Regions from separate parts of the Homo sapiens genome. Here regions 1 and 3 are each linked to region 2. The links are contacts of gene promoters, found by promoter capture Hi-C in blood cells and fetal thymus (Javierre and others, 2016). All regions are on one chromosome and are shown on one strand. The core of a region is centred on a gene start or on the middle of the fragment in contact, and the rest is flanking DNA. Distances in the headings are between cores, read along the strand shown.

Evidence for each region. The method cuts DNA at HindIII sites, captures the fragments that hold promoters and counts their contacts. A CHiCAGO score of 5 or more calls a contact.
Region 1: a contact is called between the fragment with the promoter of TCF3 here and the fragment with the promoter of CNN2 in region 2, in 3 of 17 cell types (total B cells, erythroblasts and naive CD8 T cells). The highest score is 9.0, in total B cells.
Region 3: a contact is called between the fragment with the promoter of KLF16 here and the fragment with the promoter of CNN2 in region 2, in 2 of 17 cell types (non-activated CD4 T cells and naive CD8 T cells). The highest score is 6.0, in non-activated CD4 T cells.

The regions. Positions count from the first base shown.
Region 1 is chr19:1,650,668-1,654,024 of GRCh38, reverse strand. It overlaps TCF3 (transcription factor 3), which reads left to right and starts at 1,410. Exons shown (of 19, transcript NM_003200.5): 1 at 1,410-1,725. RefSeq lists enhancers at 672-781, 902-951 and silencers at 1,242-1,291, 1,302-1,431, 1,962-2,041, 2,132-2,361, 2,169-2,391 and 1 more. The HindIII fragment of the contact is 10,400 bases long and covers 1-3,119 here.
Region 2 is chr19:1,024,868-1,028,369 of GRCh38, reverse strand. CNN2 (calponin 2) reads right to left here and starts at 1,762. Exons shown (of 7, transcript NM_004368.4): 1 at 1,646-1,762. The coding sequence starts at 1,708. RefSeq lists a silencer at 1,475-2,114 and an enhancer at 2,105-2,836. The HindIII fragment of the contact is 13,555 bases long and covers 1-3,502 here.
Region 3 is chr19:1,861,447-1,865,001 of GRCh38, reverse strand. It overlaps KLF16 (KLF transcription factor 16), which reads left to right and starts at 1,423. Exons shown (of 2, transcript NM_031918.4): 1 at 1,423-1,961. The coding sequence starts at 1,505. RefSeq lists silencers at 61-280, 351-1,450, 1,781-1,960, 2,011-2,180, a promoter at 330-1,534 and an enhancer at 2,995-3,555. The HindIII fragment of the contact is 13,147 bases long and covers 1-3,555 here.

The DNA of each region.
Region 1 (3,357 bases), core at 161-2,660, 630 kb before region 2:
CTCTGCCTCCTGGGTTTAAGCGATTCTCCTGCCTCAGCTTCCCGAGTAGCTGAGATTATAGGTGTATGCCACCACGCCCAGCTAATTTTTGTATTTTTATTTTATTTTACTTATTTATTTATTTATTTTGAGACGGAGTTTCGTCCTTGTTGCCCAGGCTGGAGTACAATGGCGTGCTCTCGGCTCATTGCAACCTCCGCCTTTCGGGTGAAAGCGATTCTGCTGCCTCAGCCTCCCGAGTAGCTAGGACTACAGGTGCCCGCCACCATGCCCGGCTAATTTTTGTATTTTTAGTAGAGATGGGGTTTCACCGTGTTGGCCAGAGAGGTCTCGAACTCCTGACTTCAGGTGATCTGCCCGCCTTGGCCTCCCAAAGTGCTGGGAATACAAGCGTGGGCCACCGCGTCCGGTCAACTTTTTAAATTATTATTTTAAATTATTTTAAATATTTTTAGAGACGGGTGTGGGTGGGGGGGGTTTCACTATGTTGTTCAGGCTGTTCTCGAACTCCTGGCCTCAAGCGATCTTCCCGCCTCGGCCTCCTTCAAAGCGCTGGGATCACAGGCAGGAGCCACGGCGCCCGATCCTAGGCGGGGTCACTTTTTACTAAAATGTAGACACGGACTACTAAGAATCAGGAAGCCAGATCTGGCCTGAGTTCTGTCCAAAGTCAGGTCCAAATTCACAGATGCCGAGACGGAGACTCAAGTCGGCAAAGGCACCGCTGAGACTCCCCGCGGGGCTCTCTGACCCAGAGCCGGAGCCAGAGTCGGTTTTCCCGCCGGGAAAATGGGTCTGACGTAGCCCCCTCGGGGCCGTGATACCCGCTCGCACCACTCAGCACGCGGGGCCGGCCCGAGGAACGCAAATATAACCAAGCAGAAGGCTCCGCGCGGGCGGCCACGCCAACCTGAGAACAAAACTCCAGGACCCACCCCGGCCGCCTCTCGCGGCCTCTCGCTCGCAGAGTCCCGCCTCTGCTGAGGGGCGGGGCCGAGAAGAAAGGAGGCGGGGCCTCACCACGAATGGCTAGGATCCCCGCCCATCAGACTTTCGCGGCTTCCGATTGACCAGACTGCTCTGCCTTAGCTTTCAATCTCACGGGCCTTACTCGCTTGCGTCATGGACTAAGCGCACAGCTCGTGTGTGCTTCCGCGGACGGGGATAGTCCGTGATTTCTCCCCGCGCCGTGGCCCGACCGCCTCCTCTGCGCGTCCCCGCTCCCAGGCTCTGGACCTCACGGGATTCGGGGTCCTCACGAGGGTGCTCGAGAGGCCGAGCTAGGGCGTTCGGGCCCGAGCCGCCCGGAGGTGGCGGAGGGATCCGCGTGGGCCGCCGGGCGGGGCACTCGGGGGCGGGGCAGGGGCGGGGCCTGCACGGGGCGGGGCGGGGCGGCGCGGGCGGGGGGCGGAACATGTCTCCCGCCGCAGGAAGATGAGGCAGCGGCGGCGGCTGCGGGCGTAGCGGGCCGGAGCCGACGCGGCGGCGGGCACCGCGGGCACCGCGCACGCCGCTGCCCCAGGGGCGCCCCGGCCGGCCGCGCGCACGGGCCCCGCGGGACGGGCCACGCGGGGGTGGGAGGGGCCCGGGCCACGCGCGCCGCCGCCGCCGCCCACGCGCGACCCTCGGGGGCCCGGCCGCGACGCACCTTTGTCCGGGGGGGGGCCCCCCCGCTTCATGCCGCCGCCCCCCCCCACGCGCCGCGTGCCCGGCCGCGCCCAGCAGGTGAGCCCGGCGGGGGGCGGGGGGCGCGCCCGGTACCCCCGTGCTTTGTGCCCAGGGAACCCCGGCCCGCCCCGCGCGCGCTTGTTGGGGGGGGGCGCGGAGGAAGTTGGGGCGGGGGCGGTGTCGGGGGGCGCCCCGCGGCCCGGGAGTCATTGTTCTCCAACTTCGCGCGGCGCCGGGGGGGCGGCGACGTGGAGGAGCCCGGAGCTCGCCAGGCCCGCGTCGCCCCCGTCGGGCCGGGCACTTCGGGAAACTTTAAGCAGCCCCGGGCGGGGGCGCGGGGGGCGCCGGACGGGCTGTGCAACTTAGGCGCGAGGACCGTCCCCCCCAGCCCGGGCGCACGGGGACCCCGGGGCGCCCCCTTTCTCGGGTAGAGGGGGGCCCGGCCCGGGCGCCGGAGTTTGGGGTGGGGAGCGCGCGGGAGGGACGTCCTTTTGTCTGCGCGGGGAAGGTGCCGCGCGCTGCAGGCGCTGGTCGGGGCCGGGCGGGCCGGGGGGGGGCGCGCGGGTAACATCTGCTCCGCGTTAATGCGGGGCGAGGCGGCGGCCGCGCTGCGAGCTTCAAAGGCTCCCGGGCCGCACCGCCTGCACCGGCTGCGGGGGGAGGGGGGTCCGGCTTCCCGGGCCGCCTCCCCCCGGGAAAAAGGCGTTCCAGCGCGCCCCCCGCCTTCGGCGCCGTGCAAAGTGGCTTCAAACATTCTCCAAGTCTCTCAAAGTCCTTGGGACGCCCCAGAAGTCTTCCAGCTCCCGTAGAATGCCCGTTTTAGCTCGCCACCCCCCCAACTAAGTCTGTCTTAAAATCGGTTTCAGCTACCCCACAAAAAAGTGCGGTTTCGTAGTCCTCAAAAAAAGTCAGTTTCACACGCCCTCCAAAAAAGAAAAAAACTGAGCGGGGGAGGGGCTGCGCTGGGGCGCCCGCTTCACACCCGGCCTCCAGTTGGCAGACAAAGAGGGGATTTCTCTGCTTCTGAAGTTGGGTCTCCCTCGACCTCGGAGGCTCCTCCCCACCCCCAGCCTCGGAGGTGTCTCCCGGGCTGCCCCCGTCCCCACCTGGGGACCCCTGGGGAAAGTCGAGACTGGAGGGGCCTGGAGTGCATTTCTTTGGAATGGAAATTTTTCTCTGTACCTTTTTCTGGGGGTGGAATGGGTCTTGGCAGGTGGATCCCCCATCCCCCATCTTAGAATGGAGCCCCCTGGGACCACGCGGGAGCACCCTGGTCTTGAGACGCTCTCCCCGCTCATGGAGGGCAGGCAAGGGATGTTGTCAAAGTTTTGCTTAAAAATAATTCCCGGATACATCGCGACAGTAAAGCAATCTAGGGCTGTTTTTTTTTTCTTTCCTGAATACTGTTGGGGTTTTCTTGGGGGGAGGGAGATTGAGGGTGGAGGAAAGCTTTGCTGGTCCCTGCATAGGATGCGCGTCCCCCCCACCCCCGGCACTTTAAGTCTTGAAGCTTGTAAAAGAGTTTCGTGGTTTTCTGACTTGTGGATTTCCTTCATGTTGAATTTGGGGGCGACCTGGTCTTCAACGGGCTGTGCCATCTGCTGGGGGAGGGGGGAATCACCAAATTTCCCTCGGGGCGGGGTAGGATCGGGCTGTTCCTCCCTTTCCCGGGGGTAGGGGGCCTCAGAG
Region 2 (3,502 bases), core at 513-3,012:
CACCCTCCAAACGGACAGACTGAGGGTTGCGCGGGGAGCCTGCTAAGCGGCTCTTCCAGCCTCTGTCCTCACCCCCGCCAGGGCAGGTATCAACCTGCCCCCACCCCACCCCACCCCGTCTCCGGAAGCCGCCCCACCCTCCTGTGCCCGCTCCCACTTCCGCAGGCCCAGCAGGTACTGGGTTCCGGTCTTGGCCCTGTCACTTGTGGGCTGTGTGGCCCTGGGCAGCTGGAACGACGTCTCTGGGTCCCTGTGGACACCGGTGCCCTTAGCCGGCTGTATGCAGGGTGCGGCAGGGTGCCCACCCCACTGCACGGGGGGCTCTATGAATGCAGGGTGCAGATGGCCCCTTGAAGGAGGAGTCGTGAGCCCCGGGCTGGGGACCCTGGCTCAGGCCTTGACCACCCCAAGCCTCAGCCTCCCTTTTTGGCCAAGAGCTGGTCTGAAGGCTTGCAGGGGCTCACAGCGGGGAAGCAGGAATTCTCCCTCCAGTCTGCCGGCCCTGGAGTGCCGCCGGGCAGGTGGCTGTTGGGGCTGGCAGGGCCGGTGCCCTCAGAGCGTGCAGAGGCAGTTTCCCCTGCAGAAGTCAGCTGTAAGGACACCTTCCCAGGTGCCCAGTGGGCGTCGGGGGAGGGGGTGGGCGGGGACGACACCCCCCTCCAGCTGGAAGGTCCTGGAGGGTCAGGTCCCGGTCCTGTCCGTGGGTCTCGCATCACAACCCCCGCCCCCCACTTTCCCTGGGAATCCTGTCCAGGACCCTGCTGTGTGACCCTGCAGAAGTGTCTGGTCCTCTCTGAGCTAGAACCACAAGTGCTCTCTTAAAAAGTGTCTCCCCTAGCCCTGGCTTGTTTTTAATTATAGAGATGGGGTTTCGCCATGTTGCCCAGACTGGTCTCGAACTCGCTGGGCTCAAGCCATCCACCCAGCTCCGCCCCCCAAAGTGCTGGGATTACGGGCGTGAGCCCCCGCGCCCTGCCGGGCCCCAGCTCTTCTTTCGAGGCTGCAAAACCCCACATATCTCAGGGCCACCTTCAGAGAACCTCTTTGTTATCCGTTTAAATTAGTCAGATGGGAGACAAAGACCGTGCAAAGCGGCTACCGCCCCTCCCCCCAAGACACCCCCAAGGTGTCCCAGAGGCCAGGAAATTCCTGTTTGTGGGGGGGTAACACTTCTCAAAAACCACTCGGCCATGCCCCTTCCCCTCCCAAAGCTAAGAGGCCCCAAAAGCAGAAGTGTGGCCAGGAGATGACGGGGTTGCTGGGGTCCCCCCCAGACCCCCAGAGCGTTGTCGGACCTTGAACGGACCTTCTCGAAGGTTGAGTGGGCGCCAGGGGCTTCACACGTGGGGGTCCTGGGGCCATGGCGAGGGGACGAAGTCAGACCCAACTACCCCTAGATGTTGGGGGGGGGAATGGGTCACTCGTCCCCCAGATCTCAGACCTGGGTGCTCCCCAAGATTCGCGGGAGCCTCAGGGGGTGCCCGCAGACATCCCCCCACCAGGCGTCAGGGAGAACAAGGGCCCGTCCGCCCCGGGTCTCCAAGCTCCCTGCCCGGGAGGTGCCGGGGGCGCCTGGGGGCTCCTGCACCGGTCGGAGCGTGCGACGGCCGCGCTGTCGGGGGGACAAGGGGCGCCCCTCACTCACCCGGTTCTTGACCTCGGCCGACAGCCCGTACGAGGGGCCCTTGTTGAACTGCGTGGAGCTCATGGCTGGCGGGCGGGCGGCGGGACGGGGCCGCACAGGACGGGACGGGACGGGACCGCCGGGCTGGCGCGGGGTTGGGACGCGCCGGGCTCCGCGCGCCACGCCCCCGCCGCTGATTGGCCCGGAGCGCAAATGTCCTTATAAGGCCTGGAGGCGCCGAATTCCTGCGGCCGCGGACTTCCTGAGCCCCCTCGGTCGCCCCCGGACCCCCGCCTGGGCACAGCACCCCCGTCACCAGAGGCCTGGAGGGGCCCCTCGCCCCCTTTGATGCCACGGGAAACTGAGGCAGGGAGGGGCCGAGGCCGCCGGGACGTGGCACTCCTGCGGGCTCTCTGCTCAGAGCTCGTGGGCGGCTCTCACTCTTTCTCCATCTCAGACTTCTCTTCTGCCAGAAAGGGGAGGGGAGAAGGCTACCTTTGGGGCAGGAATGAGGGCCCCTCTCTGCCACTTAGAGGCGTCTAACCCCTTCCCAGGGAACTCTACTAGCTGGGAGGTGGACCAGGGAACCAGGGCAGGTTCCTCAGAGAAGGGGCCATTGGAGCTGGGGCTTTGTTGGATGAGTAGGAGTTTGTCAGTCCAAAAGAGAATAGGATTCTTACTGGGTGCGGTAGCTTGCACCTGGAGTTCTAGCTACTTGGGAGGCTGAGGCCGAAGGGGGAGGATCCGTTGAGCCCAAGAGGTCGAAGCTGCAGTGAGTTATCATCACAACATGACGCTCCAGCCTGGGCAGCAGAGCAAGAGCCTCTCTCTAAAAATAAATAAATAAATAAAAATAAAAATCCGAGTGGCTCACGCCTGCAATCCCAGCACTTTGGAAGGCCGAGGCGGGCGGATCACTTGAGGTCAGGAGTTCCAGACCAGCTTGGCTAACATGGCGAAACTCCGTCTCTACTAAAAATACAAAAATTAGCCGGGCATGGGGGCACATGCCTGTAATTCCAGCTACTGAGGAGGCTGAGGTGGGAGGATCACTTGAAGCCAGGAGGCGGAGGTTGTAGTAAGTCGAGATCGCGCCACTGCACTCCAGCCTGGGCGACAGAGCAAGACTCCGTCTTAAAAAAAAAAACAAAAAAAAAAAACACAAAAAAACCCTAATAATAATAAATTATTAAAAAGTCTCCGGGACAGTCTCCTGCCAGGCAGTGCTGGCTCTCAGGAGACCTTAGCTCTGGCCCAGCCCATGCCCAGGAAGACAGAGCTGGCACAGACCAACCCCCAACCCGGATTCCCTGTATGAGCCAGCACAGGCGGAACCCCCCCACCCCGCCCACCCTGTTTCCCTATATGAGCAAGTACAGGACAGAATGAGAGGCTTGGGGCTGGAGGAACTGGAGGGAGAGTTGGGGCTCTGTCGGAGGAATCAAGGAAAGCTGCATGTAAGAGGAGGCAAGGGAGATGGGGTTTTGAAGCATCAATAGGAGTTTGACACATTTTATTTTATTTTATTTTATTTTATTTTATTTTATTTTATTTTATTTTATTTTTAGTAGAGATGGGGTTTCACCATGTTGGCCAGGCTGGTCTCGAACCCCTGACCTCAGGTGATCCACCCGCCTCAGCCTCCCAAAGTACTGTGATTACAGGCTTGAACCACTGCACCTGGCCGACCCATGTCATTTTAGACCAGTGCTGACCATTTCTGTTATTCTGAGATGAAGGAAATTTTCAATGTGGCACTATCTACTACTGTAGCCACTGGCCATGGGGCTACTGAGCACTGGAAGTGTGGCTGGTGCCATCAGGGAAGCAAATACTTCATGTTCTTTTTATTTTATTTTATTATTATTTTTTGAGACG
Region 3 (3,555 bases), core at 174-2,673, 840 kb before region 2:
TAGAGAAGCCCCGAATCGGGTCAGGGCCTCTGTCCATGCCCAACCCAGAGCAGGAGGTCGCCGCAGGCCAAAGCAGCTCCGCCCCCTGGAGGCAGCTCCGGCCACTGCGCAGTCCCCGCCGCCCCGCCGGAGCTGGGAAGGGGCGGGAGCGCGGTCGCGACCGAGGGGGGCCGCCCAGTTTCTGTGCCCCCGCCGCCTTGGGCCTGCGAACTGGGCCATCCGCGTCCCTGGTGTCCCCCCTAATATTTAACAAGTTGGCCTGGACGTCCTCGCGGCCGGGAGGCCCGAATACCTGGCCTCAGTTTTCCCGTCCGAACCCCAAGAATCGATGCCTGGGAATGGAAAGAGAAGCCCCGGACCCCGGTGTCCCAGCAGGGCGGGGAACCTCTGACCCGCTCAGGCGCCCCCAGCCCAGCCCAGCCCTTTGCGTTCGGCCCCCTCTTCCCGTCCCCCTATCCCGACCCTCTGGGACCCAACCGGCCCTCCCCACCCCCAGTGGGGCGCGCTCTAGTAGCTCCGGAACTGGGTGCAAAAAGAGGAACGAACGCAGCCTTGCCCCACCCTCCCGGGCCCCGCCGCGGGCGCGGGATACCGGGTGTCTCGGCCGGGAGGCTCCGAGGGGCTCTGTGAGCGGCGAGGGGGAACCCCAGAGAAGAGGACGAGCAGATGCCTGAGTGCGGGGTCAAAGCAGGGCCCCAGGCCGGGAGAAGAGGGGGGAAGGGTCGCGCACGTGGCCTGGGGGCGGGGCCGGCCGCTTCCGCACCCCTCCAACCCCGGCCACGTGGGGATCGGAGCCCTCCTCCATCGCGAACGGGGGCGCGCCCGGGGCCAGGAGGGAAGCATCCGGGGAGGGGGCGGGCTCCCGCCGGCCGCGCGCCCCGGCGTGGGGTGGGCGCGCCAGCGAGGAGGCGGGGCGCGCTCTGGGAGGGAGGGGCGTGCCGGGATGGGGCGGGGCGCGCTCTCGGAAGGAGGGGCGTGCCGGAGAGGGGGCGGGGTCCTCGGCCTCCCGCCCCGGCTTGAGGGGGTGGTGCTCCGGGAAAGGGTACGGGGGCGCGCGCTGGAGTGGGGCGCGCCGGGAGGGGGCGGGGCTCCCGGCCTTGCACCCTAGCGCGGAGAAGGCGCGCTCCGGGCCTAAGACGCTAGGCGCTGGCGGAGGCCGGAGTGGGCGCGCCGGGGGGCGGGTTCCTCCGGCCCGAGCCCCGCCCCCGGCGGCCGCGCGCGGCTCGGAGAGTGGTGGAGGGCGCGCCGGGCGGGGGGCGTGGCTGCGGCGCCCCGAGGGGGCGTCCTCCGGGCGGGGCGGGCTGTGGCCGCCCCCGCGGGCTCCGGTGCGTCAGGACGCGTCAGGCGGGGCGGGGCAGGCCGAGCGCGGGCGTCGGCGGCGGCGCGCGCCGGGCCTCCTCCTCCTCCTCCTCCGCCTCCCGCACTCGAGCAGCCGCCGCCGGCCGGACGGACGCCGCTCCCGCCGCCTCCGCTCCGCCCGCCGCGCCGCGCGCCCTTGCTCGGCATGTCGGCGGCCGTGGCGTGCGTGGATTACTTCGCCGCCGACGTGCTCATGGCCATCTCTTCGGGCGCCGTGGTGCACCGCGGGCGGCCCGGCCCCGAGGGCGCGGGCCCCGCCGCCGGCCTGGATGTGCGCGCGGCGCGCCGCGAGGCCGCCTCACCCGGGACCCCGGGGCCACCCCCGCCGCCCCCCGCCGCTTCTGGCCCGGGCCCCGGCGCCGCCGCGGCGCCCCACCTGCTGGCCGCCAGCATCCTGGCCGACCTGCGCGGCGGACCCGGAGCCGCCCCGGGGGGCGCCTCGCCCGCCTCCTCCTCCTCAGCCGCCTCGTCCCCGTCCTCGGGCCGCGCCCCCGGCGCCGCGCCCTCCGCCGCCGCCAAGAGCCACCGCTGTCCCTTCCCGGACTGCGCCAAAGCCTACTACAAGTCCTCGCACCTAAAGTCGCACCTGCGGACGCACACAGGTGAGTGCAGCCGCGATCCCGGCCCTTGCGGGGGCGGCCGCCTGAGACCCCTCCCCCGCCAGGACCCCGAAACTGCGTGGCGCGTGGGGGGCGGGGAGGGGGGCGCGCCCGGGCCGCCGCCGCGCCGGCCGGCAGGGCGGGGCCTCGGTGGGTGGGGCGCGCGCGGGGGGCGTGGCGGCCACGCGGTCGGGCGGCGAGCGGATGGCCGCCCCGGCGGCAGTGGCGGGGGCTCCGGGGGCCCAGCGAGGTCTGCGGGCGGGATTGAGACTCCTGGGCAGACCACCTCTCTCCCTTTCTGGGCCTTGTTCCGTTTTTTTTTTTTTCTTTTGCGTTCTGGTCTGGGCGGTGGGCACCGTGGTTGGAGCATCCGGCTCTGGGGTTCTGGGTTCTCCCCCTCCCCCAGCCTCAGTTTCCTTATCTGTGAAAATGGAGGAGGAACCGCGTCGCCGCCGCCGGGGTGGCCGCGCGGATTCTCCCCAGAGGTCGGCAGAGCACCTGGCGTGGGGCCAGGATGGGGGGAGCCCGGCACGTTTTCTCTGCGTTCTCTGTATTTTAACGAGGGGGAGGGCGAGGCTAGGAGCGCGGGTTGGGGCCTGAGTCTGGGCGGGGGAACTTCATAGTATTGGAGGACCCTCGAGGGGCTCGGGTCCACACTGCTGTATTTCCCTGGCGTGTTTGTTCACCCCTACCTGGCGGGCGATTCGGGAAGGTGCGCGTAGTTGGAGCGCTTCGGCTACACCAACGCCCCTCCTAGCGCAGTCCCCGGGGCGGCGAGGGGAACCGGGAGCCTGGTGGGCCTGGCTGTATTTTTTCACTCCGTCCCCTCCTAGGGTTCCACTTTCTGGACTGGGAGTTTGGACTGGGCAACAGGGGACGGTGGGCCTTGATGGCCGGCCCTGGTTTGGGCATTAGAGGTGCTTGTCCCTTCCGGGGAGGGTGGGGGGCTGGGGGAAAGCTGTGCGGCTGCCCTTGGGCTTGGCATTCTGGCCTTGCCACCAAACAGAAGACCTCTACCCGATCTGGGTCTCAATTTTCTCATTTCTATCAAGAGTGCGATGCTGCCTCTATTTCATAGCCATAGCGGTGGCCGCTTTGGGCAGCTGGACACTCCAAGGAGGCTTGGTCCGTGGGCTCGGATTGTAGGGACACGTGGAGCAGCCGAAGGGAAGTGGGCCGTCCAGAGTGGTGGGGCTGAGATGAGCAGGGGCCGCGAATGCCTTGCGGAAGAATTGAGGGTCCATCTTTGGGGTATGGGGAGCCGCGCTGGGACGCCTGAGGGTGGAGAGCAGGAGGGCGGGTGGGGGCGGTGGTGTGTAGCCTGCCGGCCGCCCCCTCTCTGTTCTGCACTCTTTTCACCCCTCGCTCAGTCCCTGTCCTGGTCCCAGGGGCCTGGAGGCTCTGCCCACCTTGAGACACAGACGGGAACCGAGGGCGTCAAGACAGGACTTGGGTGGGGTCTGCGTTTTCTGCGAGGAGCCACACATCCTCGGCGGAGGGGTCCCAGGGTGTTACCTCTTTTTGAGGGCAATGGGGTCCGTGTATCTCCGCGGGGAGGGACATTGGGGGTCTGTGAAGATGGCGAGGCAGCGTTGGG